Regions from separate parts of the Homo sapiens genome. Here all the other regions are linked to region 6. Evidence: promoter capture Hi-C in 16 types of primary human blood cells and fetal thymus (Javierre and others, 2016). All regions are on one chromosome and are shown on one strand. The core of a region is centred on a gene start or on the middle of the fragment in contact, and the rest is flanking DNA. Distances in the headings are between cores, read along the strand shown. Region 1 has its middle 74 kb from the start of LHFPL4. Region 2 overlaps LHFPL4 (LHFPL tetraspan subfamily member 4). Region 3 overlaps MTMR14 (myotubularin related protein 14). Region 4 overlaps MTMR14 (myotubularin related protein 14). Region 5 overlaps IRAK2 (interleukin 1 receptor associated kinase 2). Region 6 holds the start of PRRT3 (proline rich transmembrane protein 3). Region 7 overlaps TATDN2 (TatD DNase domain containing 2).

Region 1 (3,764 bases), core at 259-2,758, 470 kb before region 6:
GGAATACTGTCTGATCTTCCTTCGCTTTTTATGATTGCAGTCAGGACAGTGTGAAGGCAAACCTGCAGCAGGGCAAGTGAACATTAAAAACTGCCTTGAACTTGAGTGGTGTTCCTGACCTTGGCCTCATTCATTCAGCAACTATTTATTGGTCTTTTTCATTCAAAAACAATGCTGGACATTGTTTTTGGTGCTGGGCTTATGGTGATTAGAATGCTGATTGGGGGTGGGCAAAGTAAGGTCTCTTCTTTCATGGAGTTTACATTCTAGTGGAGGAGAGAACTAAACTAGTATATAATTTTAAATAGTCATTGCCATGTTAATTGTTTCATAGCAGATATGTGACTAAGACAGTTGAAGGAGCCACTCTAGATTGGTTGGTCAAGAAAAGTCTCTGAGGAGTTGACATTTAAACTGAGACTTCAGTGACAAGGAGGCAGTCCTGGGACGATGTGAGTGAAATTCATTCTTGAACGTTGCAGACTCTGTGGTAGAAAAAGCTTGGTTAAGATGTAATAAATGGATGGGGCTGGGAAAGAGGATAGAAGATCCTGTAAGAGGGAGATAGGGGACAGATCATGTAGAGCAGGAGTCGGCAAACTCTTTCTATAAAGGGCCAGATAGTAAATATTTAGACTTTGCAAGCCATGTATGGTCTCTGTCATAACTATTCAGCCCTTTGGCTGGGTGCGAATCATGCCTGTAATTCCAGCACTTTGGGAGGCCCAAGAGAGCAGATCACTTGAGGTCAGAAGTTCGAGACCAGCCTGGCCAACATGGCAAAACCCTGTCTACTAAAAATACAAAAATTAACCAGGTGTGGTGGTGCGCACCTGTAATCCCAGCTACTCAGGAGGCTGAGGCAGGAGAATCTCTTGAACCTGGGAGGAGGAGGTTATAGTGAACCAAGGTCACTCCACTGCACTCCAGCCTGGGTGATGGAGCGAGACTCTGTCTCAAAAAAAAAAAAAAAAAAAAAAAAAAAAACAACTATTCAGCTCTTCCATTGCAGTGCAAAAGCAGGCATAGACAGTATGTGGCTATGTTCCAATAAAACTTTATTTACAGGAAACAAGTGGCAAGTTGGATTTGGTTTGCAGGCTGTAGTTTGCTGGTCTCTAATGTAGAACCTTGTAGGTATAATTTAAATAATCTGCATTCAGTAAGTACAGTGGAGGAGTCATTGCAGGATTTTAAGGAGAGAAGTGACATTGTCTAATTTATATTTGGTTGATTTTTAAAAATTACTCTGATTGTTTTGATCCTGTTGGTGAAGAGATGAATAGGAGCTGAGAAACTGGTGTGGAAGGTAGAGCAGTTGTTCAGGCAAGCAACAATGCAGTGGTGGCTTCTATTAAGACGGTAATGATGGGGATAAGAAGTGATTGGAGTCAGGATATGTTTTGCAAGTACACAGCAGAACTTGCCAATGGATTGAATTGGCAGTATTCTAACATTTGTTTGACAAATGTTTACTGAGTAACTAAGGTAGACTGCAGTTTGCAAAGCACATAAGGGATTCAAAGATGAAGATGCTATTTATTAGTTGAAGGAGTTTAGAAATGGAAGGCTGGGCGTGGTGGCTCATGCCTGTAATCCCAGCACTTTGGGGGGCCAAGGCAGGCGGATCACAAGATCAGGAGTTTGAGACCAGCCTGAACAACATGGTGAAACCCTGTCTCTACTAAAAATACAAAAATTAGCCGGGCGTGGTGGTGCGTGCCTGTAATCCCAGCTCCTTGGGAGGCTGGGGCAGGAGAATCGCTTGAACCCAGGAGGCAGAGGTTGCAGTGAGCCGAGATCGTGCCACTACACTCCAGCCTGGGCGACAGAGCGAGACTCCGTCTCAAAAGAAAATAGAAAGTGGAAACATAACAAAACCACTTGTTTTATTAGAAGATCCCTCCAAAATGCCCTAGGAATACCTAGGTAACCTACCACCAACCACAACCTGATTCTACCTGGGTTAGGAAGAGAATAGTGTGCATGATCTTTAGAAAGTGTTTCCATATACAGTGTCTTATTTTGACTCATAATTCTGTGAAGAAAGCAAGCCAAATGCCAGAAGTTAAAGATGAGAAATTGAGACCTAGTACAGTGTTTCAGCTATAGCACTGGGCTTCTGATAATGAATAAAACTAACTGATTTCTGCCATAATTGGAAGGTTCTGTTCCATGACCATTGGCTGAACACCTACTGTGTGCTAGGCTATATCTGAGGTGCTGAGAATATCAAGGTAAGACAGTCAACTGCCCATTCAGAGTTAACCTATTTGCTATTCTTTTCAAGTACTTACTGTGTTGCTAGGGACTTTGCTTTTGATATGGTGTAAATCAGAGGTGTCCAATCTTCTTGGCTTCCCGGGGCCACACTGGAAGAATTATTCAACATGTAAAATACACTAACAATAGCTAATGAGCTTAAAAATATATATATATTTTAAGAAAGTTATGATTGTGTTAGGCCGCATTCAAAGCCATCCTGGGCCACGTGCAGCCCGTGGTCTGTGGGTTGGACAAGCTTGGTGTAAATAGAAGCTAGACAATATTAATTAAAGAGGCCAGTGCAACAGTGGCACCTTCTATGTCACTTTACACTTTCCTGGACTCCACTTAAGTCATCAGCTACCTCATTTACATGTAACAATGTGCAAGGTAGGTATAAGTTCAGAAGATACAACTTATTCAAGATTTCTCTCTTTTAAGTGGCAGACCCAAACCAACAGTTTTGGAAATTTTGCAGTTAACCCAGAAAACAAATAGAAACAGCTAGAGATGCTGTGACACTATGACCAGAAATCACTTACCTAGCTGAAAAAGTATATGGTACCCTTTACTGTCTTAAAAACAGCAGTCTGGCCCTTTTGCCCCCCAGGTGTCAGTTTGACAGTGTAGGGTTCTCTGTTTAGCAGAGGTTACCATGAAGAAAAAAAAAAAATGCAGTTGTCCAAACGAAGCAGGCCCTTTGCTTTTAAACTGCACTGATGACAACCCGCATAATCTGCTGTGAGGCTCAGAGAAAGGAGTTGACCGAGGGTTCGTTCTGTTTTTATTTTAAGAGACAGGGTCTCACTCTGTCACCCGGGCTGGAACGCAGTGGCATAATCGTAGCTCACTGCAGCCTTAACCCTCCAGGGCTCAAGCAATTCTCCTGCACCACCACGCCCAGCTAATTATTTTTTTGTAAAGACAGGGTCTTGCCATATTGCCCAGGCTGGGCTCAAACGATCCTCCTGCCTCAGCCTCTAAAGTGCTGGGATTACAGGCATGAGCCGCCACACCTGGCCTGCCAGGGGTTCTTAAAATGGTCAGTTCTAAAGATAGATGATGGAAACAGTTTGGAGGAGAGCATAGTCATTGAAGGAGATGGTGCTCTTGTAACTTTTACCTGCTCCTGCATTAAAAAATTAACTGGCAGGGATTCTGAAATCATGGTTTTACTATTTCTCAAATTACCCGTTAAAGCACCACAAAGCAGCCATGATAGGAAACCTGGAAACCTTGGACAACTTGACAGCAAAACTAGGTATCCCCAGAAACCCCCAAACAAAAAACGGGTAGAGATAAACCACTAATAGCCACAAGACCAGCATGGTATCACCATCTGTTCTAGTGGAAGCAATGGCACATCTGATGGATCTCAGAACTTCAAAATAACAAGTACTCACTTGAGGCCGGGAGTGGTGGCTCACGCCTGTAATCCCAGCACTTTGGGAGGCCAAGGCGGGCGGATCACGAGGTCAGGAGATCAAGACCATCCTGGC
Region 2 (3,656 bases), core at 231-2,730, 450 kb before region 6:
TGCCACTGCACTCCAGCCTGGCAACAGAGTGAGACTCCATCTCAAAAAAAAAAAGAGATAGCCAGGCATGGTGGTGCCTATGGTCCCAGCTACCTGGGAGAATGAGGTGGGAGGATTGCTTGAGCCTGGGAGTTGAGGCTACAGTGAACTGTGATCTCACCACTGCACTCCAGCCTGGGTGACAGAGCAAGACCCTGTCTCAAAAAAATAAAAATAAATTATGCAGGCCAGGTGCAGTGGCTTATGCCTGCAATCCCAGCACTTTGGGAGGCTGAGGCGGGTGGATCACTTGAGACCCGGAGTTTGAGACCAGCCTGGCCAACATGGTGAAATCCCATGTCTACTAAAAATACAAAAATTAGCCGGGTGTGGTGGTGCACACCTGTAATCTCAGCTACTCAGGAGGCTGAGGCAGGAGAATCACTTGAATCAGGGAGGCTGAGGTTGCAGTGAGCTGAGATTGTGCCACTGCACTGCAGCCTGGGCAACAGAGGGAGACTCCATCTCAAAATAAATAAATAAAACAAATGATGCAGTCTCAGGTATGGCTTTATAACAATGCAGAAATGGGCTAACAGTCTACCCCTAATCCAGCCCCCTAATGCTACCACCAGAGTGCTCTTTCTAAAATGCAAATTGAGTCATTTTTCCTTCTGCTTCAAATCCTTCAGTGGTTCCCCATTGCTCTTAAGTCCAAACTCCTGTCCATGGCCCCCAAGCTTTCTCATGGTCTGGCCCTCGCCTGTCTCTCTAGACTCATCTCTGACTCCTCCCTGCCTCGTACTTCACATTTCAAACTAAGTTGCTTTTCGTCCTCCATACACAGTTCTGCTGCCTACCTCAGTCTTTTTCCTCAAGCTGCCTTCTCTTTGACCTTCCTGACCCCTCCTGCCTAACTTCTCATCCTACAGCAAGACCTCCTCCTACGCTGCCCACGTCACCAAAAGCCATTTAAAGTATTCCTGCCTAGGATACCCACAATACCCTGCATGTGGCAAGTCATGCGTTATTTTCACATGTTCATCTCCCCAACCAGAATTATGCTTAAGACAGCATCTCTGTTTTGCTCATTTTTTTTCTAGCTTAAGTGCTTAGCATACACTAAGTGCTTAAAATGTGTTGGAAGAGGACTCCATTTCCAAGTCTTCAATGTAGCTACCTGGTACTGCGCACATTACAGCGTGCCAGATACCCTGCAGAGCAAAGTGCATATATTCCCTGGTATGTTGCTTACAGCTTCCCTTGGGGGAGTCACTATTGTTTTCTCTATTTATTCAATGGGGCTTTAGAGAGAGGCAAAGTGACTGGACTGAGCACTCTGGCTAGAGCAGATGAGGCTCTACTCTTTTCTGCCTGTATGGACTTGGACAAGTCGTGCCTGTGCTGTCAGAGGTGTGCAGAGATTACTGTATCCCTCTCTCTATTCACTCCTTTCTCCTTTGTATCAGAACCCTATTTTTTTTTTTTTTTGAGACGGAGTCTTGCTCTGTTGCCCAGGCTGGAGTGCAATGGCGCCATCCCACCTCCCTGCGACCTCCGCCTCCTGGGTTCAAGCAATTCTCCTGCCTCAGCCTCCTGAGTATCTGGGATTACAGGCACGCACCACCATGCCTGGCTAATTTTTGTATTTTTAGTAGAGACAGGGTTTTGCCATGTTGACCAGGCTGGTCTCAAACTCCTGACCTCAGGTGATCCACCCACCTCAGCCTCTGAAAATGCTGGGATTACAGGCATGAGCCACCTTGCCCGGCCAAGAACCCCAGTTTTATTTGGGCTGGCAATGCGCCGAGATAACAGACCACACTTTTTCAGCCTCCTTTACTGTTATGTGGCCCAAGTGACACAGTCCTATGGAATTTCCAGAAGTCTTCAAATGAAATGTGGACCAGGTGACTGGAGCTCCAGCAGCCCACGTTGGGCCATGAGGTGTTCTTGAGGATGTAGCCAGGATTGAAAATGGCAGTGCAGAAAGATAGGAGCCTGGGTTCTGGATAACACTGAGAGCCATATCAGCCGTGATCTACCCACCTCCAGGCTTTTTTTTTTTTTTTTTTTTTTTTTAATGTGATGGTAAAATAAACTATCTTGTTAAGCCACAGTAGTAGGGTTCTGTTAATACCAGACAAACCTGATCCATAGGGTTGGAATCTTACCCCTCTTGATCCCAGTGACTCAGAGAAGTGGCAGCCAGCGTGGGTGATAGAAAGTGTTTCTTTATTTGAATGTCATTCCACCTGCACTGAAGCTTAAACCCAGCAGCAGCAGAAGGGGTCAGGACCAAAATAAATGTTACCAAATTAGACAATGAACAGCGAGGACACACTCAGACAAAACTTACTAATGGGGTATAGACAACACCAAGCTATCCTAACAGCACACAGCACAGGCCCTCGGAGGCCTGCCCATCAGAGCTCTGCGGAAGGCTCCCTTGTTCCCTGTTCAGGAAACTCCAGTCCCACCCAAAGGTTAGCCGTGGGCCAGGCAGGGGCCTGCAGAAGTTTCTGGTGCTGGGAACATCCCAGCTTCTCCAAAGACAGGGTTTCCCTTTCTCTTTCTCAGTTCACACTGGAAGCTGGAGAAAGGTTATTCCCCGTGTGCCCAAGCAGGATGCTCAAAAGGCCAGGGACTCTCCCCACAGCCTTATCTAAAAGTTCTCATCATCTTGGCTATCAGGCCTGAAAAGGATCTTGATTCTTTGGTCCTCACCCCCTCAGGAAAGTTTTCCTTCATGGGTACCGGTCCCCAAAGACGAAAGTTTTCATAGCCCCGGTTCCCAGAAGGACTCAACTGACCAGACTGTGGGCCAGGGACTGAACCACCCCTAGGCTGTGGCTGCCGTGGCCTCTCCTGAGTCCCCAGATCAGGCAGAGAAAAGCGGGCAATGGCAGACCCCTGATCACAGTTAGGGGGGTCACAGTTAGGGGGGGACTTCTCTTGGGACCTGAAGCCGGAAGGCTCTAGGTTGGAGCCCAACAAGGCCCTCCTGGGGTCAGAAACAGGCACTGATCTCCTCTGCTTACCTCCTCCTGAAGGCTAAAGCCAGATCGCCCGACGAGAGCAGAGGCAAACCACAAAGCCCCCTTCCCATGATGTCTTTATTGCCCCAGGAGGGCCATCAGGGCCTCACCTGGGGCCCCCACTGGAGCACCTGCCACCTGCCCCATCCACACCTCTGCAGAACCCAGGGCCCCAGTCTATGGTTTGGTCCCCACTCTGACTTCTACCCCTTGCCTGTGTCACCCTGGGGTTCCCGCAGACTTCAGCCCACACAACTCTGCCTTCCTGACTCCAAACTCCCTGGTGCATCTCCCCCTGGCTCTGCCAAGATGGCAGCTGGCCAGGTGCGGTGGAATGGGAATGTTGCCAGGCTACCCCACCAGGGAACTAGCCTCCCTCCTCTCCACCCGGCGCTGACCCACTCCTAAGTCAGCTGGACCCACTACGTCCTCTGAAGTGGCTTCCTTCACTCCAGTTCTTCCCAAAAGGATGCGGCCTTGGCTGCCTGTGCCCCGGGCCTCCAGCCTCTGAAAGGTCAGTTCTATCCCCCGCACCAGGGCACAGGTTTGGTGGGTGTCCTTGGGGAACAAGGTGTGGCAAGGACACCTGGTGGCAGGCGTCCTTGGGGGAACAAGCTCTCCCCTCACCCAGTGCCCAGA
Region 3 (3,308 bases), core at 808-3,307, 290 kb before region 6:
CGCCTGTAATCCCAGCTACTCGGGAGGCTGAGGCAGGAGAATCACTTGAACCCAGGAGGCGGAGACTGCACTGAGCCAAGATCGAACCACTGCATTCCAGCCTGGCGACAGGGTGAGACTCCATCTCAAAAAAATAAAAAAAAAAGAGTGCCCATTTCACAAGGTTGTAGTGGGGTTCTCCAAGAAAAGAGTGTTAAGGGCTCTTGTAAATAGATCACAGAAACAGTATTACATCCTCAGTTATATAACCTAAGAACTTGGGATCGCCAAGCCTAAAGAATTGGGGTTTGTTATGGCCCTGTTATTTATGGTTCTTAGCTCTTCCTTAATTCCTCCTTCCAGAATTAGGTAAGCTTAGTTTCTTTTTTTTTTTAAGACAGAATCTTGCTCTGTTGCCCAGGCTGGAGTGCAGTGGTGCCATCTTGGCTCACTGTAACCTCTGCCTCCCAGGCTCTAGCGATCCTTGTGCATCAGCCTCCCAAGTAGCTGGAATTACAGGTGTGTGGCACCACACCTGGCTAGTTCTTGAATTTTAGTAGAGATGGGTTTTGCCATGATGGCCAGGCTAGTCTCAACTCCTGGGCTCAAACAATCCGCCTGCCATGGCCTCCCAAAGTGCTGGATTACAGGTGTGAGCCACCGCGCCCAGCTGGGTAAACTTAGTTTCCGTAAATCTTTAAGCTAAAGTTTCTGAACAAGAGGGTTTTGTTTTGTTTTGTTTTCTTTGTTTTTGCCTTGCCATTCTCTTCGTTCCCCTTCTTCCTACCCTCTTTGGTGCTGGCTGGCTGGTGGTTTTACCTCTGTGCCCTGATGATGACATTCTGATATTAAGCTCAGCTGTAATCAAGGTGGGTTTTTTTGTTTTTGTTTTTGTTTTTAATTAAGACGGGGTCTGGAATGCAGTGGCACAATCATGGCTTGCTGCGGCCTTGATCCCCTGGGCTCAAGTGATTCTCCCACCTCAGCCTCCCAAGTAGCTGGGAATATGGGCACATACCACCACTCCCAGCTGATTTTTTTTAATTTTTAGTAGAGACCAGGTCTCGCTGCATTGCCCAGGTGGGTCTCCTGAGCTCAACAGATTTCCTCACCTCGGCCTTTCAAAGTGTTGGGATTAGAGGTGAGAGCCACCGCACCCAACAGAGTGGTTCTTTTCTATGTTGATTTTATGAGTGAATCAACTGGGGATCTTTCTACAATGCAGAGATTCAGAAGACCTGAGGTGGGCCTGCGATTTGGCATATTCTAACAAGCTCTCAGGTAATACCAAATGTTACCCTTCAGTAACATAATAGTACATTGAGAAACGTAGTGGTGGTTGCCTTGTAAAAGCTTTTCCTGGAAGGAAACAAGTTTAGTGTTGATCCCTTAAAGAGACTGAAACTAGTATTTGTTGAGTACCTCTGTTTGGCAGGTGTTGAGGTTTTACTTGCTAGCTTAAGCCCTACAACTATTCAGTGAAGAAGACAGTATCACCACTCTTTTTTTTTTTCAATTTGATATGGAGTCTTGCTGTGTCGCTGAGGCTGGAGTGCAGTGGCGCAAGTGATCTTGGCTCACTGCAACCTCTGCCGCTCAGGTTCAAGTGATTCTCCTGCCTCAGCCTCCCTAGTAGCTGGGATTACAGGCGCGTGCCACCATGCCCGGCCAATTTTTGTATTTTTAGTAAAGACGGGGTTTCAACATCTTGGCCAGGCTGGTCTTGAACTCCTGACCTCGTGATCCACTGGTCTCGGCCTCCCAAAGTGCTGGGATTACAGGTATGAGCCACCGCGCCTGGCCCTCACCACTCTTTTATAGATGAAGTTGAAGCCCAGAGAAGTAATTTGCCTTTGCCGAAGATCACAGAGGTAGTAAGCAGAGTGGGGTTAAAAGCTGTATTTCCTGACTCTGTACCTGTCTGCCTTATCTTTCACCACCACGGCTCTCCCACCTTGTCTAGCAGAACCTCACAGTTAGGCCAAGGCCACTGTGGAACATGATTAACCTTAGAGGAGCTTGTTGGAGTTTGTTTTTACTTTTCACTCCTTGCAAGGCCTTAAAGTGTTACTGAAGTGATGTTGAGTGGGTGATGCCTGCTTGTTGAAAGGGGGGACTTCGGGTATGTTTGGGTGGGAAGAAATAGCATTTTTTGCTTTTTTACTGTCTGGCTTGGCTGTTACTATGATGCTGAATTAAACTGAATAGACTGAATAAAAAATAGACTGAATTAAACAGGGTAGAATTGGATTTAAGCAATGTTTTGGTCCTGTTAAGGAACCTCTCCAATTTGGTTCATCATCTGGGAATAGAAGCCTGGACAGGGATCTCTGAATAGCTAAGACATGTTTGTCAACAGTGTTCGTTCAGCTGCTGCTGTGTAGTAGACCTCAGGGATCAAGTTGGAAGCCAGATAGATGAAGTCCTTACCAGTAGGTCTAGTGGGAAACAGAGTCCAATAAAGAAGCAATAATTGTTAATAAAAGCTGGAATTAGGGGAAGTACAGGTGAGGCCCTGCCGGATAGTGGTTAAAACCATGGGCCCAGTGGCTACCCACAGGGTTTAGAATCTCAGCTACCCTGTTTACCTGTTCTGTGACTTTGGGCTAGAGATTTCATCTCATTAAACTACCTCATCTGTAAAATTGGGTAAGTGAGGACTGAGTGAGATAATGTGGGTGTAAGCTCTACTTTGTGCCTCTTATCTATTAAATAGTAGCAGCAGTAACATTTATCTCAGGAAGTTGTGGGGTACATTATAGGAACAAGCCACCCAGTTTGGTAAGTGTGGTGCCTGTCTGGGAAAGCTTCCTATTGGAAATATGTGATAACAGCATTTTCTTCTGTATTTGAAAATAGTTTGGCTGGGCATGGTGGCTCACGCCTATAATCCTAGTTACTTGGGAGGCCGAGATGGGCGTTTCGCTTGAACCCAGGAGTTTGAGACTGAATTAAACTGAATAGACTGAATAAAAAACAGACTGAATTAAACAGTCTGGGCAACATGGTGACACCTTGTCACTACAAAAAATACAAAGCATTAGCCAAGCATCGTGGCATGTGCCTGTAGTCCCAGCTACCTGGGAGTCTGAGGTGGGAGGATCACCTGAGCCCAGGAGGTCAGCTGCAGTGAACCATGGCGCCACTGCACTGCAGCCTGGGCAACAGAGGAAGACCTTGTTGGGAAAAAAACAACAAAATCTCACTACCTGGTAACATCTTGCCAGAAATTTCAGTGCATACATTACAAATGTAAATACAGAAGCCTACATTCATCCCTTCGAATGTGAGTATTATGTGCCAGACACAGCTCAGTGCTTAGCACTGCA
Region 4 (3,413 bases), core at 213-2,712, 270 kb before region 6:
CAGTGTTAAGTAAAAAGCTGAGATTTTAAGCTGGGAATGTTGCCAAAGCCCTATTCTCTCCAGTGTTTCTCTCTGTTCCTGAGGGCTTGTCCTGGTGGAGTTACTTATGATTTTTCCACCAAAGAATATAGAAAAGTGCCTCTTTGCTTGCTTTGTTGGGCATGGCAGTGTCTCTTGAGCACCGGGTTTTAGGCACTGTCCGTGGGCCTTTCCAGTATGTTAGGATGTTCAGTCTTCACTAAAAGCCTGCAAGGCTAGCATTATTTGCCCCCATTTTAGAGAAGAGGAAGAGTGATCCTCTGCAGCTAGGCTGCAGTGGCTCACGTTGTGAGTCATGCCTTTGTTTACTGGGATTGGCACTACAGAGACCTGTAGGACAAAGGGACTTGCAATGTGGGGGAAGTGACTGGTGACCAGTGAGCATAGATGGAGAAAGTTACAAAGAGGCTGAGAGCAGGCAGTGCCTCGTGGAAAAGGCATGCAGCCAGGAAACCAGAGGGGCTCTAGAGGCTCGCCCCTGGCTTTTGCCCACCCGTGTCAGCCTTGGCCTCACTGAAGCCACTAGCTTGGAGAAGTGTGAGTTGGCGGCCCCCTCTCCACAGCACTCAGGGACCTGGGTCTGGCCAGGGCTGTCTCAGAAGACTTTGGGCTGGGAAGGGAGATGTCATAACTCTGCCCTTCTTTTCCAGGCTGTGAATTTTTCAAGGAATATAAAGATCGGGATTACATGGCAGAAGGGCTCATATTTAACTGGAAGCAGGTATGAGCAATAACATACATCAAATTGGATCTATGTCTCTTTGTAAAGGGAGGCCAAGGAGAACAACAAGCAGTCTTTGGGGAAAACAACAAGCAGTCTTTGGGGAAAATAACTCCCCTTTCCTCCCTGATTGTTTCTGTCTTCCTCTCCCTCTTCTCCTTGTATATACTTGTTAAATTTTCATCATTATACTTTCCTCCCCCCTTTATTTCTCTTTTGTTTAAGGGAATTTTTCAGAAACAAGATAGGAAAAGCCCTTCCCTTCTGTACTCTCTGTGTGAAAGCTGGGGGCAGCATTCTTTGCCTTCCCCAGCCTGTAGGGGCAGGCTATGGGAAACCTGCCGGAAGCTGAACACATATTGATCTTGCATGTTTCAGCAACAGACATCAAATGTCCGACTGAAAAACTCCTACTCAGCTATACTGATCTGGTCACATTGATTTTTAAGCTGTCACTCCCAGGTAGCACAGGTATCTGGCCCAGAGAAGGCAAGCACTGCCTGTGGTAGTCACAGCCTCAGGACTGCAAGCTTCCCCATCACCTAAGCCTCCTCTGGTGGCCAACCCACATCTCACAGGAGTCTTTCTGTCCCCAGGACTACGTTGATGCCCCATTGAGCATCCCCGACTTCCTGACTCACTCTCTGAACATTGACTGGAGCCAGTATCAGGTGAGGGGCCTGACTCAAGCATTGAGGGCAGGATAAGGGAGTGGTGACCAAGGAGACTCTTGATGCCTGCCCCACAAGGCCCTCGTGTGTTTGCCTGATGGGCTGGCTTGTGCACTCAGATGCCTTTGGCCCTCTGTCCTCTCAGAAAGGAGGAATTGTGTGTCCGTTCAACTATCTCCTGATTTGCTCATGTCCCAGAAAATCAAAGCTTTCTGAACGTGACTCATTCAAAGATTTGCATCCACCAGGGGGTTCTGTTTCCAGAGGACCTCATAGAGTCTGCTATTCCAGATCTGGGCTTTAGTTACTTTTACATTTTTCCTTTTAAATGTGTGTTCAGCCAGAGGAAGTACAGAGCTGCCTGACCTCATTTGATTATAGAAACATTAAAATTACTTCCACCATGCTCTTCTCCGTCATTGCACACCATGGAAGGGGCCTCTAGTCTTACTGGAAACATCTCTCTACCCTTAGCCCACACAGTCTGAAGGCTGCCAGCAGCTTTGCTTGCCACTTGCTTCAGACAGAACAAGTAGTTTTGTTTTTCTGCGACCTTTCCCATGTCCTGTTCCTCTGCCTGGCTGCCACCTCTCAGCTTCCTCTTGTCTGGCTGACATACTGCCCTTCAGGCTTTGGCTCGAGTGTCTGCTTCAGGAAGACTTCCCTGATCTGCCTCTTCCTTATCCCTGGCGAGTTGGATGCCTGCATCTATATTCCCATTAACCCCCTGGGCACATCCATCATGGAATTTTCCACTGAGCTGTAGTCACTGATTTAGAGATCTGCTTCCCTGAAATCCTGGAGGACAGGGACCCACAGCTTGTGTGTCCCAGCACAGAAACAGGCACAGAGCCTAGAACTTGAAAGACTGAGCCAGTGAGCAACAGAAAACATTCTGCCTCCCTGCTAGTTTCCCCTGTCCCCAGGTCTGGACAGCTCCCACCCAGCCTTGAGATCTCTCTTTCTTTGAAAGGCTGACCCATCTATGTTAAGCAACTGGGTGCTCCTAGATCACCAATGTCAGTACCCTGTTGTCCTGATAGCAGCAAGGTCCATCTTGTTTTCTCTATATATATCCAGACCCTAATCACAAGGTTTATGCTCACAGCAACTGTTTGAGTGTATGAAGTAGGGTGATGTCAGAGTTCCCCAATGCAGGTGTTTGCAAGAGAGGGAGCACTGGGGAGGAAAGCAGACCAGTTGTTTGTTATGGTCTGGAAGCCTGGAGAAGGAACAGGTTTGGGGTACCTGTGCTGTGGTCTCATGTCCCAGGCTGTGCCTAGACAGACTGAGTAGATAAAAGAACCGGCAGGCTTCCTTCTTTATGTGCTGCATGCAGAGGTCAAGTAGACTCTGCCCCAAGCCACCCTCTTTCTGGTCCCTTCCGGCACCATTTTTTCTCCTTATGCAGGTACAAACTGGATCTGATGAACTACTCAGCAAATGAGATGTGACAGTTCCAGGCACTGGTCCCAAGGATGTTTGCCTCTTTAGGAAGGGGTCCTGTGCGTGTGAGGAGGTACTCTGCTTAGTAGATGCAGGCCCTAGATCTAGGTCCCAGCTTGCCTGGCCCTTCCTGCAAGGCTCTGTGGCCTTGAACAGATGACCTCACTTCCCCCTGAAAATGGTGTTGGCAGTACCTATTTCAGAGTTGTGCCAGGCTCAAATATGATCACTGCTTGAAAGGGACTCCTGAACTGAAATACCAGACAGATTGTAATGATAATTATGAAGAGGCTGCTAGCTAGCTAATTCAGGGAAGTGAACACTGAAACTTCCAGGCGTGAAGGCAGCAGGGCTGGAGTGTAGCAGGCAGGCAGGCGCCTCCCAAGAGGCCACCTCTTCAGTGTTGCTCAACCTGTTTTGTCTCACTGGGGCTCCTAGCATGCTCTTCCTTGGCTGGGTGTGGGCTCTGCCTTTTCTGCCCGCAAAGCCCTGGGGTGCCGGTACCCTGTTCCTTTTCACCATCTCCCCAGGTGATC
Region 5 (3,377 bases), core at 205-2,704, 260 kb after region 6:
CATCCTGACCCATAGTCCCTCCTTTCCAGGGTCCTCTCCAGCCAGAGCCCACCAGCCGGCCTTTCTCCAGCCTCCTGAAGAAGATGCCCCTCATTCCTTGAGAAGCGACCTCCCCACTTCGTCTGATTCAAAGGTAAATCCACCCCTCGGCTGCAGCCCCCAAGCCATGTCTCCCAGCGTGTAGTTCCCTCTCAAAAATGCAATTTCTCTACCCCTTGAGACCAGTTTAAGGGTGGAGAGGAGAAAGGAAATTGCCATCAAATTACCCCAAGCTTCTAAGACTGTAAGTAGAGGAGGTCAATAATAGCGGGGAGAGGGAGGGAGGGCACTTCAGTGAATATACTTCTTGTTTTTTAATTTGTTATTATTATTATTTTTGAGACAGAGTCTCGCTCTGCCACCCAGGCTGGAGTGCAGTGGCACGATCTCGGGTCACTGCAACCTCCGCTTCCCGGGTTCAAGTGATTCTCCTGCCTCAGCCTCCCAAGTAGCTGGGATTACAGGTGCATGTCACCATGCTCGGCTAATTTTTTGTATTTTTAGTAGAGACGGGGTCTCACCATGTTGGCCAGCTTGGTCTCGAACTCCTGACGTCAGGTGATCCACCTGCCTCCGCCTCCCAAAGTGCTTGGATTACAGGCATGAGCCACTGCACCCGGCCATTATTTTCTTTTATTATTTTATTTTATTTTCGACCTGTGGTCTCAGCTACTTGGGAGGCTGAGGCGGGAGGATGGCTTCAGCCCAGGAGGCAGAAGTTGCAGTGAGCTGTGATCCTACCACCACATTCCACCCTGGGTGACAGAGTGAGACCCTGTCTCCAAAAATGTATGACCATATTGGTACGAAGATAAATAAAATCCAAGCAGGATTAAAAATGAGGACATTTCTTTGACTCTAAAAGTCCATTTATTTTCTTCTGATTTTAAAATAAATTAAAATGTTCTGATGGCCCCTAAAAGTGTTGTGAGCCTAGACCCTTTGCATCCAGTGCCTGGGGGAGAAGCCAGCTTTGCATGAGTGTGGTTAATGAAGCTCTTCCATGTCCCAGGTGTGGTGTCACATGCCTGTAGTCCTGGCTATTTGGGAGGCTGAGGTGGGAGGATCGCTTGAGCCCAGGAGTTGGAGACCAGCCTAGGCAACACAGGGAGGCCCCATCTCTAAATTAATAAATAGATCAACCTTCCATGAAGGATAAACCCAACACTTTGGGAGGTTGGTATGGGAGGTTCACTTGAGCCCAGTACTTTGAGACCAACCTGGGCAACAGTGTGAGATCCTGTGTCTACAAAAAAGTTTTTTTTGTTTTTGTGTTTTTTTTGAGGAGTCTCGCTCCATTGCCCAGGCTGGAGTGCAGTGGCACGATCTTGGTCACTGTAACCTCTGCCTCCCAGGTTCAAGCTATTCTCCTGCCTCAGCCTCCTGAGTAGCTGGGATTACATGCACATGCCAGCATGTTTGGCTAATTTTTTTTTGTATTTTTAGTGGAGACAGGGTTTCGCCATGTTGGCCAGGCTGGTCTTGAACTCCTGGCCTCATGTGATCCGCCCACCTCAGCATCCCAAAGTGCTGGGATTACAGGCATGAGCCACCGTGCCTGGCCAAAAAGTTTTTTTGAGACAAAGTCTCCCTCTGTTGCCCAGGCTGTCTCGACTCACTGAAACCTCTGGTTCCCCAGTTTAAGCGATTCTCCTGCCTCAGCCTCCTGAGTATCCGGGATTATAGGTGTGTGCCACCACGCCTGGCTAATTTTTGTATTTTTAGTAGAGACACGGTTTCACCATATTGCCCAGGCTGGTCTTGAACTCCTGGCCTCAGAGGATCCGCCTGCCTTGGCCTCCCACATATGGTGAGATTACAAGCAGTGAATCACTGTGCCTGGCCTCGCCAAAAAAAAAAGTTTAAAAAATAAGCCAGGCGTGGTGGCACACACCTGTAGTCCCAGCTACTTGGGGGCGCTGAGATGAAAGGATCCCTTGAGCCTGGGAGGTTGAGGCTGCGGTGAGCTGACATCATGCCATTGCACTCCAGCCTTGGTGTCAAAGTGAGACCCTGTCTCAAAAAGAAATCAAAACTATGTGTGTGGCATGATACCAGTTTTGTTAAATAAATCCTAGTATATCTAATTGGCCGGAAATACACTAACTTTAATAGCAGTTAAATGGATAATGGGGTTATGGATACTAATTTTCAAAAACTGTTAAGAGCATATGTAACTTAAAAAAATTGAAATTTAGGCCGGGCGCGGTGGCTCGTGCCTGTAATCCCAGCACTTTGGGAGGCCAAGTCGGGCGGATCACGAGGTCAGGAGATGGAGACCATCCTGGCTAACACGGTGAGGCCTCATCTCTACTAAAAAAATTACAAAAAATTAGCCGGACAGGGTGGTGGGTGCCTGTAGTCCCAGCTGCTCGGGAGACTGAGGAAGGAGAATGGCGTGAACCTGGGAGGCGGAGCTTGCAGTGAGCCGAGATCACACCACTGCACTCCAGCCTGGGTGACAGTACGAGACTCTGTCTCAAAAAAAAAAAAAAAATTACGTACATGTGTTTTAAAGAGAGAAGTTATTAAAAACGGAAACAGAACTTCTTTTTATAGGCTTATATACACATGCAGTCTCTGGAATTCTGTTTAAAGCAAGCTTGTCTTACTTGCCCATGGTTGTGTGCAGCCCAGGATGGCTTTGAATGTGGCCCAACACAAATTTGTAAAGTTTCTTAAAACATTATGAGTTTTTTTTGCAATTTTTTTTTTAAAGCTCATCAGCTATCATTAGTATTAGTGTATTTTATGTGTGGCCCAAGACAATTCTTCTTCCAGTGTGGTCCAGGGAAGTCAAAAATTGGACACCCCTGGTTTGGTTATATGAACCTGTATCCTACTTCCCAGGAGTCTGGAACCCCAGTATCTATGCTGTGAATTAGACCAAGAGTGCTGAGCTCGGCCACTGACCAGCTGTGGGACCTCACTTCAGCTGTTTTATTTCCTCAGTGCTTACTTCTGTAAACTGAAATAAAGGAAACATCAACCATGTGCCAGGAATACTCACATCTTAGTCTTCAAAATTACTCTTCGGGGTACTATTGTTACCTTCATTTTTGCTGATGGAAAAAATTGAGGCTCAGAGAGGTTAAGTAACTCACCCAAGGTCACAGAGCAAGATACAGATGGAGCTGGGATTTGAGCTTGGGCCTATCCATGTCCTTTTTTTTTTTTTTTTTTTGAGACAGAGTCTCGCTCTGTCACCCAGGCTGGAGTGCAGTGGCGCGATCTCGGCTCACTGCAAGCTCCGCCTCCTGGGTTCACCCCATTCTCCTGCCTCAGCCTCCCGAGTAGCTGGGACTACAGGCGCCCGCCACCACGCCTGGATAATTTTT
Region 6 (3,807 bases), core at 158-2,657:
CAAATAACCAAACAGGTATGGGCGAGGTTCATACCTGATGCTTGACAAGCGTTACACATTCCTCTTCCCGCCTTCCTTCCCTCATCTTCCTGGGCACTTGTCACTCTGGTCTGATTCTATAATAATCTCCTGCCTCTTATTTCAAACCTGCAGCCTCCAGTATATACCTGGCCCCACGTGGATATCCCCTAAAAGTTCCTGTTCTCGAGAGCCTGTCAGTGGGCCAGGGAGGCAGGAAGGGGCCCCACCACCAGGAGAGGTTTCATGGAGGGTGCGAGAGCTGAAGCCTGGGTGTGTTTGGCGGCAGAGGCCCTGCTCTTTTCCTCTCTGGGGAGCAGCTGTCCCCAAAGCTTCCTGGCTGTTAACCCATGGTGGCTCACAGACACCTTAAGAAGCCACTGAAAACCCCTGGTGCTCTCCCGGGGAAAAGACCCAGGCTCACCGAAAGTTGTGAACAATTTCAAGGGGTTCAAAGACCTTTGAGTCCCATCCTCCAAACTCGAGTTTAGACTCTGTCTTAAAGCCTTGTTAGTTCATTTCTCAAACATTCACGGAGCCCCATGGGCTGCTCCTGGTCTAGGCTAGGTGCTGGGGGCCCAGAGACAGGGCTTTGCTCCAGGGTTGGGAGTAGGGGTGCGCTGAGACGCCCCTAACACAGGTACTGGCTAAAAACAGTGCTCCTGTGTTTAGTTCTTTCCCAGTGAGGCTCCTGCGCTGAGCTTAGCAACACGTCACTCCGCCCTCCCAATACAAGGTGTGGGAACAGCCATTTCACAGGGGGAAGAAACGGGGGTTCAGAGAGGGTGAGCAACTCCCCCAAGGTCACACAGCTGAGTGGACACAATCGGGGTTGTGAAACCCTCGGAGGCTCATCTTCCACAGGAGGTCCAAAAAGCTTTGCCGAGAAAACGGCTGAATGGGGCCTCCAAAGATAAACATGCCATCTGCCTACCACTGCCAACCCAAGAGATGTGGGCACCTGCGGACAAGGCGGGGGCTTGCCCAGCCCTGGGCTCCCACTCTGCTGGAGAGGCTGTGGGGGGTGGCGGATCTCTCTGCCGCAGGGACTGGGGAGAGGCCGGCCTGGGGGCAGGGCGAGGCCGTTGCGGGGCAGCCTCGGAGCTGGTCCATCTCGGGTTACCTCTCCTCCTCCTCCTCCTCCTCCTCCGTCTCCTCTCTCCCTGGCTCCGCGCCTTCCCGCAGTGTCCTGGATGGGGGTGGGCGCCGTGCAGGCCTGGTCGCCTGCGCCCGCGACGGGGGCAGCAGGCCACGCTCCCCGTCGGGGTCCCGCCATCGCCCCCTCCCTGGGCCAGCTCCTCACCTGCGCGCCGCAGCCCCCGTGTTCACCTTGCGCGCGTCCCTGCAGCCGATCGCCGCGCCGCATCCTCCGAGATGCTCAGACTCGGCTAACAGAGCCCGGCGCTGCCGATCGCGAGCCCGCCCACAGGAGCGCAGCCCTGCTTAACTCTTTCCCCTTAGGGGTGGACTCTTCTGTCAACCCTGACTTCCCCTCGCTCAGGGATTGTCAGGGCTCAGAGTGGAACCGAGGTCATCTCTGAGGGATGTGGAAATGTCTTCTGCAGCATCCCTGAAAACGGGGCAGCTAGCCTCTGCTTGCATACCTCATGGGACGGGGAGCTCACTTCCTTTCTATATCCCTACATCCTTTTAGGTAAATCCTACCTACAGCTTGGTATGTATCCTTCAGATTCTTCTCAATGTACAGTTACATGTACATCTTAAATAGAAATGACATCATACTGTATACTTTTTTTTTTTTTTTTTGAGACAGTCTTGCTCTGTCGCCCAGGCTGGAGTGCAGTGGCGTGATCTCGGCTCACTGCAACCTCCGCCTCCCAGGTTCAAGTGGTTCTCCTGCCTCAGCCTCCCTAGTAACCATGCCTGGCTAATTTTTATATTTTTAGTGGAGACAGGGTTTCACCATGTTGGCCAGGGTGGTCTCGAACTCCTGACCTCAGGTGATCAGCCCGCCTCGGACCCCCAAAGTGTTGGGATTACAGGCGTCAGCCACCGTGCCCAGCCACTGTACACATTTCTGTAATTTGTCTTTTTCACTTTCCAATATATTCTGGCACATTTTTCATGTAAATATCTATAGATCTATATCATTTCTTGTATCCACTGTTGAGAATTCCAGCATATGGTCAGCTAGTTATTGTTCTTTATCCTGTCCCCTGTAATTGGACATAGGTTGTTTCTAGCCTTTTGCTCGCAGGGATAATGGAGCAGGGGCCATTCCTTGCTTAACACATCACTGTGCACGTACACTAGTGCACCTACCAGATAATTGCCTAGCCGAGGCATGGTAGTAAAATCTATGGGTCTGCATATGGGGCTGGTAGACACTGTCAAAATGTTCTTGGTCTTTCTTTGAACACCTCTTGATATACTAAACATCCATTATTAGGCTCAATTCCTTAAGGGAAAGCCACACAGGAAATATATGTGGTTATCAAAAATGAGATAGGGCTGGGTGCAGTAGCTCACACCTGTAATCCCAGCACTTTGGGAGGCCTAGAGAGGAGGATCATTTTGAGCCCAGGAGTTCAAGACCAGCATGGGCAAGATGGTGAGACTTTTTTAAATTAAAAAACAAACAAAAAAACAAAAAAACTAGCTGGGCGTGGTGGTACATGCCTGTAGTCCTACCTACTCCAGAGGCTGAGGCCAGAGAATCATTTGAGCCCAAGAGGTCAAGATTGCAGTAAGCTATGGCCACTGGAGTGTCACTGGAGTGCATTGACCACTCTGTCCATTGACCACAAGCTGTGTCACTGGAGTGCAATGACCACTGCACTCCAGCCTGGGCAGTAGAGCGAGACTGACAAAAAAAAAAAAAAAAAAAAAAAAGAAGAAGAAGAAGAAGAAGAAAATTTGGCCTGTATAATGGCTCATGCCTATATTCCCAGCACTTTGGGAGGCCAAGGCTGGAGGACTGCTTGAACCCAGGAGTTCGAGACCAGCCTGGGCAACATGGCAAAACCCCATCTCTACCAAAAAAAAAAAAAAAAAATTAGCCAAGTGTGGTGGTGCGCACCTGGGTCCCAGATACTCAGGAGGGTTATGTGGGAGGATCACTTCAGTCCAGGAGCCAGAGGTTGCAGTGAGCCAAGGTCGCACCACCGCACTCCAGCCTGGGTGACAGAAAGAGACCCAGTATCAAATAAAAAATCAAATTTCACTTAAAAAAGAAAAAGAAAAAATTCTTCCTAGGGCTGAGCTGACATCTCCCTCCCAATGGCTTCCTACCTCTAGCTCTCACAGAAAAGCAATACTCAGGCCCCAGTTGTGTCTGACGTGTTGCAGTTTGAAGAATATTCCATCCCTAATGGCTGGTAAATGGTGGGGCCTGCATTCAGCTGCTTGACTCTGGGAGAGGGTGCAGGCCTTGCCCGTTTCACACATGACCTGACCAGCTCTGTTTTCCTTGTTGGAGCCACTTCAGAATTGTAAAGGCATCTCTCATTTCTCTAGAGTCTTCTTTCTCCAGGACAAACACTCCGAGTTTTTCAGCTGTTCCTTGCAGGACAGGATTCTGGGTTCTCACCATGTGGAATCTCTTCTCTGTTTGCTTCTTACCAGCTCAACAACGCCCCTCTGAAAGTAGGACTCTTGGAAATGAACCTTGTTGGGAGTAAAGCTGAACCTTCACCTCTCCTTTCCAGGATTCTACTCCATTCATACGGCCTCACACTGAATTAATGTTTCTAGCAGCCACATTACTTTGTTACCCAATTGATCTAGTAGTAAAGTCTTCCCATCTCTTCATGTACCACTGGTTTATTG
Region 7 (3,293 bases), core at 207-2,706, 310 kb after region 6:
CAGCCTCCCTGTGTGGCTTGAATACCTTTTGGGTTAAGTCTGTGTAAGATTTGTTACTGCCATGTTCACAGCTGAGTCGCCTTGTATACTCTGATCACATTTTCTTTCTTGTAAAACTTCATTTTCCTTAAAGTTCATCATTACTTTGTTTTTCCTTTGGTTTTCCTGGTACCTTTCACTAATTAATCCCCAAACTGCGAGAGCTGTAAAATCCTTCTCAATACTGTCAAAATAAGGAATCTGTTTCTTTTTTTTCTCTCTTGGAGGTATACGTCCTCAGCCCTCTGTTGTCCTGCTCTGGTCTGGACTGCCTGCCGTCAGGCCAGCTGGCAGCTGTCTCTCTGGAGCCTCCTTCACATTTCTCCCGGATTGAGTCTTCTGCTACCTATACTCTGTGTCTTCTCATGTTCTTCTTCCTTGGTTTACTCTCACATTTTGGTGGAATACTTTTTCTAGTAGCTTCTTGAGAAAGGGTACATGGAGAAACTTTTTTTGGTAAACATGTGTCTGAGATTGCCTTTATTTTACCTTTAACCTTGATTACAAGCTTGGTTGGTTTTGGAATTCCAGGTTGGAAATTGTTTTGTTTGGGATTTTGAAGGCATTGCTCCTTTTCTTCTGGGCTTTTTTTTTTTTTTTTTTTTTTTTGAGGTGGAGTCTCGTTCTGTCTTGCCCAGGCTGGAGTGCACTGGTGTGATCTTGGCTCACTGCAGCCTCCACTTCCTGGGTTCAAGTGATTCTCCTGTCTCAGCCTCCCGAGTAGCTGGGATTACAGGCACACGCCACCACACCTGGCTAATTTTGTATTTTTGGTAGAGACAGAGTTTCATCATGTTGGCCAGGCTGGTCTCAAACTTCTGACCTGAGGTGATCCACCTGCCTAGGCTTCCCAAAGTACTGAGATTACAGGTGTAAGCCACTTCGCCTGGCCTCTTCTGGTTTTCTTGATGTCTGAAGCTATGCTGGTTCCTGAACCTTGGTATATGATTTTTTATTTTTTATTTTCTTTTGCTTTGAGACAGAGTTTTGCTCTGTCACCCAGGTTGGAGTCCAGTGGCGTGATCTCAGCTCACTGCAATCTTCACCTCCCAGGTTCAAGCGATTCTCCTGCCTCAGCCTTGTGAGTAGCTGGGATTACAGGCATGTGCCACCACACCCGGCTAATTTTTGTATTTTTAGTAGAGATGGGGTTTCACCATTTTGGTGAGGCTGGTGTCGAACTCCTGACCTCATGATCCGCCCGGCTCAGCCTCCCAAAGTGCTGGGATTACAGGTGTGAGCCACCGTGCCCAACCTGTATTTTTTTTTTTTTTCCCTCTGTGGAATCTTGTAGAATATATTTTGATCTCAGGGCTCTGAAATTTCATGGTGGTGGTGTCTACTTTGCTTAGCATGGGACATTCCCTTTCAATCTAGAAACCCTTGTACTTTAGCTGTGGGAAAAGTTCGTGAATTACTGTACTTCGCTGATGTTTTCTTTCCGTATTTTTCTTCTCTCTTTCTCTCTCTAGCTTCTCTACCTTCTTTCTCTTATTTGGATGTTGGATTTTTCAGGACTGGTCCTGTAATTTTATTGCCTTTCTCCCTTGTTTCTAGCCAATTTCTTGCTTTACTTTGTAGGATATTTCCTTTTCTTTATCTTCCAACCCAGCTGTTTATTTAGTTTTACTTTTCTACTGTCATGCTTTTTATTATCCAAGAGCTCTTTTGTTTTTTAATAACATCTCTGTTCTTGTTTCATCTTCTGTTATCTCTTTTAGGGAGTTCATGGTAGTTTTTTGGCTTGGTTTTAGTTTTCTTTAAGTTGCTTCTTTCCGTTTCTTTTGATCTCTTCTGTGTTAGAGGCTGCCTTCACATGTCTGGTAATCTTTGGTTGTCTGTTTATGATCAAGAATGGGAGGATTAAAAAGCTGTTTGGAAGCTCTGAGCGTAAAGACTTTGAGCTTTGCTTTGGGATGATCGGGAGAATATAACCCTCTTCCCCTTGCCATGTCACTGCTTTTAGGAAAGCCTCGAGACTGGTCACCTTGCCCAGAGGAGTGTTTTTCAGCCTGCTTAGGAGGAAAGGTGGCTGGGAGCTGGGTAGCGAAAGGGGCGGCTGCGGGGGCGGCGTCAGCATTCACTTAATCTTTGTCTTTTTGGTGCAGTACCAGTGCCCTCCACTGAGCTGACCAGGCCTTATTCTAGAGATCCTCTTGTTTTACTGTCTTCAAACAACTCACCTTCTCTGAGTATGAGGAGGGAATCTGGGATCTAACTCATTGGAAACCAGATTTCACCCTGTCCTCCTCCTTTTAATGTTCTTCTGTAACTCCAGTTCCTCCAGTTCCCAAGGTGCCCAGTACCGCGAGTGCCTGCTCTGTTCTAAGCTTTCCTGGTGCCTAGCTTAGGTCTCAGCCTTCTCTTGGTCTGCCAGTGAGGTGTTATTTGGCCATCTGCTTTCTAGCCTCCAGTGCGTGATCACTGTAGTCTCTTGTTCTTCCTGTTCTGGTGTTTTTGTTATTGTAGAGGGGTTTTATTTGTTTTTTGTTTGGTTTTTAGATTCTTTAGTTTTAGTGAGGTTTCAGGAAAGAGTAAAATAAGTCGAATTTGTTCAGTACATCCTTAGCCTAGAAAAGTTCTGGGAAAATTTCTTGATTATTTGATTTCTTGTCTGTTTCTTCTTTTTCTGGACCATCTATTTTATGCTTGGTCTTTCGGATGGAAATTCCAATTTTCTTTTCTTCCCAGTGAATCCTTTTTAAAAAATTTTTCTGGATGGTTTCTTCAACTTTATCTTCTTTTTTTTTTTTTGAGATAGAGTCTCACTCTGCCACCCAGGCTGGAGTGCAATGGCTTGGTCTTGGTTCACTGCAACCCCTGCCTCCCAGGTTCAAGCGATTCTCCCGCCTCAGACCCCTGAATTGCTGGGACTATAGGCGCATGCCACCATGCCTGTCTAATTTTTGTATTTTTAGAAGGGACGGGGTTTCATTTTGGCCAGGCTGGTCTCGAACTCCTGACCTCAGGTGATCTATCCGCCTCGGCCTCCCAAAGTGCTGGGATTACAGGCGTGAGCCACCGCGCCTGGCTCAAGTTTATCTTCTAACGTTTATGTTGATTTTTTTTTTTTGGTCTTTTTTTTTTTTTTCCTGTGCGTGGTTTTTTTTTTTTTTTATTGCTGCCAATTTTTTTTTCTTTTTTGTCTTTTTGAGACAGAGTCTCACTCTGTGGCCCAGGCTGAAATACAGTGGTGTGATCTCAGCTCACTGCCACCTCTGCCTCCTGGGTTCAAGCAATTCTCCTGTTTCAGC

What was found. Contacts are between HindIII fragments. The CHiCAGO score rates a contact against its expected background, and 5 or more counts as called.
Region 1: a fragment that was not itself captured here is called in contact with the fragment with the promoter of PRRT3 in region 6 in 1 of 17 cell types (erythroblasts); the score reaches 5.3 in erythroblasts.
Region 2: a fragment that was not itself captured here is called in contact with the fragment with the promoter of PRRT3 in region 6 in 2 of 17 cell types (erythroblasts and M2 macrophages); the score reaches 6.2 in erythroblasts.
Region 3: a contact is called between a fragment that was not itself captured here and the fragment with the promoter of PRRT3 in region 6, in 2 of 17 cell types (monocytes and activated CD4 T cells). The highest score is 5.6, in monocytes.
Region 4: a contact is called between a fragment that was not itself captured here and the fragment with the promoter of PRRT3 in region 6, in 1 of 17 cell types (monocytes). The highest score is 5.2, in monocytes.
Region 5: a fragment that was not itself captured here is called in contact with the fragment with the promoter of PRRT3 in region 6 in 2 of 17 cell types (M2 macrophages and total CD8 T cells); the score reaches 6.9 in M2 macrophages.
Region 7: a contact is called between a fragment that was not itself captured here and the fragment with the promoter of PRRT3 in region 6, in 15 of 17 cell types (endothelial precursors, activated CD4 T cells, naive CD4 T cells and 12 more). The highest score is 10.0, in endothelial precursors.

What each region holds. Positions count from the first base shown.
Region 1 is chr3:9,478,264-9,482,027 of GRCh38, forward strand. No RefSeq gene overlaps it. Among named protein-coding and RNA genes, the nearest start is that of LHFPL4, 74 kb to the right of the region's middle. The HindIII fragment of the contact is 2,021 bases long and covers 499-2,519 here.
Region 2 is chr3:9,496,168-9,499,823 of GRCh38, forward strand. It overlaps LHFPL4 (LHFPL tetraspan subfamily member 4), which reads right to left. Exons shown (of 4, transcript NM_198560.3): 4 at 2,194-3,656. Among named protein-coding and RNA genes, the nearest start is that of LHFPL4, 56 kb to the right of the region's middle. The HindIII fragment of the contact is 1,526 bases long and covers 718-2,243 here.
Region 3 is chr3:9,656,067-9,659,374 of GRCh38, forward strand. The region is part of intron 2 of MTMR14 (myotubularin related protein 14); the gene reads left to right. Among named protein-coding and RNA genes, the nearest start is that of MTMR14, 8.2 kb to the left of the region's middle. The HindIII fragment of the contact is 1,454 bases long and covers 1,331-2,784 here.
Region 4 is chr3:9,676,628-9,680,040 of GRCh38, forward strand. It overlaps MTMR14 (myotubularin related protein 14), which reads left to right. Exons shown (of 19, transcript NM_001077525.3): 8 at 690-760; 9 at 1,357-1,431. Among named protein-coding and RNA genes, the nearest start is that of CPNE9, 25 kb to the right of the region's middle. The HindIII fragment of the contact is 349 bases long and covers 1,289-1,637 here.
Region 5 is chr3:10,209,560-10,212,936 of GRCh38, forward strand. It overlaps IRAK2 (interleukin 1 receptor associated kinase 2), which reads left to right. Exons shown (of 13, transcript NM_001570.4): 4 at 30-133. Among named protein-coding and RNA genes, the nearest start is that of TATDN2, 37 kb to the right of the region's middle. The HindIII fragment of the contact is 2,369 bases long and covers 271-2,639 here.
Region 6 is chr3:9,951,001-9,954,807 of GRCh38, forward strand. PRRT3 (proline rich transmembrane protein 3) reads right to left here and starts at 1,408. Exons shown (of 4, transcript NM_207351.5): 1 at 1,322-1,408. PRRT3-AS1 (PRRT3 antisense RNA 1) reads left to right here. Exons shown (of 4, transcript NR_046734.1): 4 at 3,604-3,787. RefSeq lists a silencer at 907-1,446. The HindIII fragment of the contact is 9,295 bases long and covers 894-3,807 here.
Region 7 is chr3:10,261,904-10,265,196 of GRCh38, forward strand. The region is part of intron 3 of TATDN2 (TatD DNase domain containing 2); the gene reads left to right. Among named protein-coding and RNA genes, the nearest start is that of TATDN2, 15 kb to the left of the region's middle. RefSeq lists a silencer at 2,032-2,221. The HindIII fragment of the contact is 1,822 bases long and covers 546-2,367 here.